2 separate regions of the Homo sapiens genome follow, and region 2 is linked to region 1. The links are contacts of gene promoters, found by promoter capture Hi-C in blood cells and fetal thymus (Javierre and others, 2016). All regions are on one chromosome and are shown on one strand. Each heading gives the region's core, a stretch centred on a gene start or on the middle of the fragment in contact. The rest is flanking DNA. Distances are from core to core; before and after follow the strand shown.

Region 1 (2,700 bases), core at 139-2,638:
TCATTCGTCAAGCCTTGTTTCCAGCATCTGTAAAGTGGGCCTGCTCCTTCCTACTGCTTAGAGTTGTGAGGGGAGTGGAATAAATCAAATTATGTAGCCTATATAGAACACCTACTACAGGGCTTTCCTCGCACAGAGAATGTGCCCAAAAAATGGTAGCTGTCATTAGTGGTCTTGAAAAGGCACCCACTGGCCTTGGAGTCCTATCAAGTTTGGAGACCTGGTTCAGCCACTCTCCGGCTCTTAGTCCTTTGAGCCAGTTCTGTTTTCCCTTTTGGAAACTGGATCTCCTGCTGCAGCCACTTGGAAGGATTGTTATGAAGCCTAAATGGACTCCAAAACGCTCAAGATCAACTGTGAAGTGCTGAGCCCAGTAAAGGATTACTATTATGTCCTCCTTGATGTTGAAAGTGGGACATATTTCAGTGTTCTGAGACTACTTTTCAAGTGAAGTCCTGTGTTTTCAGCAGTGGCTGAAGGTGGACTTGGGAACTGTAATGATTGTTTGCCATAGGCTGGGTGGAGAAGCATCTCCATCCCAGGCACACGGGGGTAAAAGAGAATAAAGATCCTCTTCTTTTTCTCCTTTTCTCTTTTTGCAGAGTCCCCTACCTGCTTCTCCTTCTCTTCCGCAAGCAGCGTGTGTGTAGAGCTCCTCCCTCAGTGCCACAGGGCCTCTTCCCTGGGGTGAGGCTTTAAGACCACGGAAGTTTCACATTCAGCCTTGGTCAATCCTGGAAGGCAGAGGAGCCCCCACTGCTCTCTCTGCTGCATCCTCAGGCCCTTCCCGCAATTCCTTCTCACCCCAGCCTCAGGGCTTGGGATCTGTGTCCTAGGATTCTGTCTTCCAGAGAAGCTTGAGTCATTTTGGGCCTGAGCAGGTCATCACAGGGACACATCTCAGTTACCACTCTTTAGAATAAGTTCTTCAAAGTAAGGTCTTTGCTATTACTAATGGTTGCCCTTCACCTACCAACTCACCTAGCAGGCATTTAGCATACATTATCTGTAATCCATACAACCCTGCAAAGGTTTATTGTTTCTGTTTTACAGATGAAGAAACTGAGGCTGAAGTCAATTGTAACTGGGCCAAGTTGGCCAAGTGACAGTGAGGTAGGGGGCAGCACTCGACTCGAAAGGAATGGCTGGGACATCGGACCAAATTGAGGACTAGCTAAAACAGGTGTGGTGGGAAGTACCTCGCATAAGACACTGCCACCAGTGTACCTTGTCAGTTTACCATTGCCATGGCGACTCCAAGAAGTCACCGCCCCTTTCTAGAATGTTCTGCATAAACTGCCCCTTAATTTGCATATAATTAAAAGTGTGTATAAATGTGACTGTAGAACTGCCTCTGAGCCACTACTCTGGGCACACTGCCTATGGAGTAGCCCTACCCTGCAAGGAGCAGTACCTCTGCTGCGGCTGCACACTGCTATTTCAATAAAAGGTGCTATTTAACACCACTGGCTGGCCCTGGAATTCCTTTCTGGGTGAAGCTAAGAACCCTCCCAGGCTAAACCCCAATTTGGGGGCTTGCCTGTCCCGCATCAACAGGATGCAACTCAAGTCTGACCCAAAGCAAATGCTCTTTCTGCTGTGTTATACTGCCTCACCACAAGAAATTTCCTCTGATCTTGCAGTTAATTTCTTCCTCTGGCTATTTTCCATGACCAACACCCACCAGGATCAGTTAGAAACAGTTATTGAGGCTGAATGTAATTAATTACACACTTACGTCATTTTGAGCTGTTCAAGTTTAATTCCCTTGAAATTATAGTCAGTGGTTTGCAACCCTGGCTGCACAGTAGAAACATCTGGGGTGCTTTTAAAAAGTATAAATGCCTAGCCCTACCTCCAGGGAGACAGATTCAATTATTCTGGAGTGGGGCTCAGGCACTACTGTTTTTTAAAGCTTCCCAGATAATTCTAATATGTGCTGGCACAGTTGAGAACCAGTCATATCAGAAAGCTGGGGCAGAGGCCAAGCATGGTGGCTCATGCCTGCAATCCCAGCACTTTGGGAGACCGAGGTGGGTGGATCACTTGAGGTCAGGAGTTCGAGACCAGCCCAACCAACACGGCGGAACCCCGTTTCTACTAAAAATACAAAAAAATTCGCTGGGCGTGATGGCACGCACCTGTAATCCCAGCTACTTGGGAGGCTGAGGCAGGAGAATCATTTGAACCCGGGAGGTGGAGACTGCACTGAGCCAAGATCATACCACTGCACTCCAGACTGGGGGACACAGTGAGACTCCATATCAAAAAAAAAAAAAAAAAAAAAAAAAAAGCTGGAGCAGGAGGGAAGACTGATGAAAGGAGAATAATAAAGCTTCTCTATGCACTTTGCATATATTTTTCTTTTTTTTTCTCTCTTTTTGAGACGGAGTTTTGCTCTTGTTGCCCAGGCTGGAGTGCACTGGTGTGATCTTGGCTAACCGCAACCCCTGCCTCCTGGGTTCAAGCAATTCTCCTGCCTCAGCCTCCTGAGTAGCTGGGGTTACAGGCATGTGCCACCACACCCAGCTAATTTTGTATTTTGAGTAGATACGAGGTTTCTCCATGTTGGTCAGGCTGGTCTCAAACTCCTGACCTCAGGTGATCCACCCACCTCGGCCTCCCAAAGTGCTGGGATTACAGGCATGAGCCACCGCGCCCGGCTATATTTTTTTTTAACAAAAATATCTTTATTGGTTT
Region 2 (2,700 bases), core at 138-2,637, 270 kb after region 1:
AGAAGGGTAGCTCAGAGCTGTGTTTAGCAAGAGGACGCTGACTGCACCATAGGATTAAAGTCTGGCGGGAGAAGGTATTGGCAGAGAGGAAACGTACTCAGGCCGCCCATACTTCTCCAGCTAGATTTTTTCATCCAAAAGAAGTACATACTTATCTTATTCTTCTAATTCTCTCACGTCCCAAACGTATCCTCCTCATATCCCTAAAGGCAATGTTTCTACTCTGGGCTGGCATGAAAACACCTGCTTAAGTTGTGAGGGCCCTTTCAGCCGGGGCCTAGAGATGTGAAACAAATGAGAGTTCAAAGAGCTTGTCATTCTTTAAAACTCTGGAGAGAGAGATGTGAAGAACATTCTGGGAGAGATCAATGGATTTAAGGAAGTAAAAATTTTAAAATTTTTATTTAAAAATATTTATTGTAGAAAATGTGGAAAGGTTGGAAAAAAAAAACAGTCATCTCTAGACTTCAAGCTCCATGAAGGCAGGGAACAGTTTTTTTTTTCTTTAATAAAATTGTTTATTGAAGGTATAACATGTATACAAAGACCACGTCTGCTTTTGCTCACTATTATAACCTAGTGTCTAGCAGTGTATGATGTTTGGAAGCTCAGTATTTGTCGAACTAGTAATTGAATGTAGAAATACCCCTTACGTGGGAGTGTTTATAAAATTCATTTTAGGCAAGGCGTCCTTAGGAAAGGCTGCCTTTTACTGTCTATATCCCCCCAAACGGCCCAAAATATAACACCTACCATATATTACGTGGTAGGCCTTATGCTACTTTCTTTACACGAATTACTGATTAATCTTTCACCAAAACCTAAAAGGCAGATTATTCTCTCCCTCTACAGATGAGGAAGCTGAGGCTCAAATTAGAAATTCGGTTTCGAAGGTGATACAGCGGGGCCAGCATCGACGTGACTCGGGAGCCCACGCAGGGCGGGAGCCCACGCGGGGCTGGATCCCCTCAAGGCACCGGGCGGAACAAGGGGTGGAGCTCGCGGGGGCCACGGGGCTTTCCAGGATGGGGGACAGGCCCGAAGCCGTCACGGGAGGAGGGGACTTGGCAGGTGAGCGGGGGCTGGCTGGGGAGCAAGACCCTGAGGCCGGGCCGGCGTCGCTCCCCAAGCCCCGCAGGCTCCAGCGGGGGAGAAAGCCTCCGTGCTCCTCGCCTCACTTCATACCTCATCTGGTAGTGCATGGCGACGCGCTCCCGGTGCTGAAAGTCGCTGCCGTCGGTGCCGGCCGCTCGCGGGCCTGCTCGAGACGCCATTGTGCCTGCCCAGAACCCCCGAACCCCTCACGCGGACCTGGTACCGCAACGACACCGCCAAGCGGCCCACTGACCCTATTTGCGCCCCCGCAGCCGCGCGGCTCCGTGAAGAGAACTTCCGGCCCCTCTGTCTCTGGAGGACCGACTCTATGGTCACTCCTCTCCGCGCAGGCGCCCTCGTTCCCTCTCGCCCCCGCCCCGCCCAGCCCCGCCTCTTGTGGAGCGCGCAGGAAATTAATCCCCAGCCTCTTTTGCTGGCGCCCAGAGGCCGCTTGAACACTTTTACTTTCTTAAGCTGTAATATCAGTTAGGATACTTCTGTCCACACTTTACAGAGGGGGAAACTGATATATTCTATGACTTTCCCTGGAGCACACATCATTCACACAGCCTCACACCTTTAATCCCAGCACTTTGGGAGGCCGAGGTGGGTGGATCACTTGATGTCAGGAGTTCAAGACCAGCCTGGGCAACATGGTGAAATCCCGTCTCTACTAAAAATACAAAAATTAGCCAGGTGTGGTGGGTTCCTGTGACCCCAGCTACTTGGGTGGCTGAGGCAGGAGAATCGCTTGAACCAGGGAGGCAGAGGTTGCAGTAAGTCGAGATTGTGCCAATGCACTCCAGCCTGGGGGACAGAGTGCAGAGTGAGACTTTGTCTCAAAATAAGTTTCTCACATTTAATTATTGCAAAGAGAAACAGGGAATCTCTCAGTGAGGAAATCTGGCTTGTCTCCCTTAAACATATAGTCAGTTAATTTGATCAATAATGAGATAAACTGATATCTTGTGCCTCTTTTAATAGACTGAGGACACAGCATCACTTCTATGATGTTTCTGCCAAAAATACCTAACTGAATCTAATCATGAAGAAATGACATAAATCCAGACGGAGGGACAGTCTAGAAGAGAGCTGGACTGTACTCTTCAAAAATGTCAAGGCCATGAAAGAAAAATTATTTCCAAATAAACTTTATCTGTAGAGACAAAGTAGAATGACCATTGCCAGAAGCTCGAGGGGTGGACAGAGAATGGGGAGCTAGTGTTTAATGGGTACAGAGCTTCAGTTCGGGAAGATGAAAAAAGTTCTGGAGATGGATGGTGGTACTGATTGCACAACTATATGTGTGTGCTTAATGCCACGGAAACTGTACACTTAAAAATGATTAACATAGTAAGTTTTATGTTATGTGCATTTTACCACAACAAAATACTAAGCGAAACTTTAAAGAAAGAAGTTATATTATCCGAATAAAGAAAAAAAGAAAGAAAAAAGCATGTATAGTGAGCATCTTCCATGCACCAGGATGCTCTGCTATGACCTGGGGACGCAGAAATAAACATGGTCCATTTCCCCTGAGGGATCCCAGCCCAGTCGGGGGAAGAACTTGTACCCATGAAGCTAAGAAATTCAAGAAAACACAGG

Evidence for each region. The method cuts DNA at HindIII sites, captures the fragments that hold promoters and counts their contacts. A CHiCAGO score of 5 or more calls a contact.
Region 2: the fragment with the promoter of JAGN1 here is called in contact with a fragment that was not itself captured in region 1 in 1 of 17 cell types (activated CD4 T cells); the score reaches 7.6 in activated CD4 T cells.

What each region holds. Positions count from the first base shown.
Region 1 is chr3:10,159,635-10,162,334 of GRCh38, reverse strand. No RefSeq gene overlaps it. Among named protein-coding and RNA genes, the nearest start is that of IRAK2, 3.9 kb to the left of the region's middle. The HindIII fragment of the contact is 1,059 bases long and covers 859-1,917 here.
Region 2 is chr3:9,889,297-9,891,996 of GRCh38, reverse strand. JAGN1 (jagunal vesicle mediated transporter 1) reads right to left here and starts at 1,387. Exons shown (of 2, transcript NM_032492.4): 1 at 1,186-1,387. The coding sequence starts at 1,274. The HindIII fragment of the contact is 18,772 bases long and covers 1-2,700 here.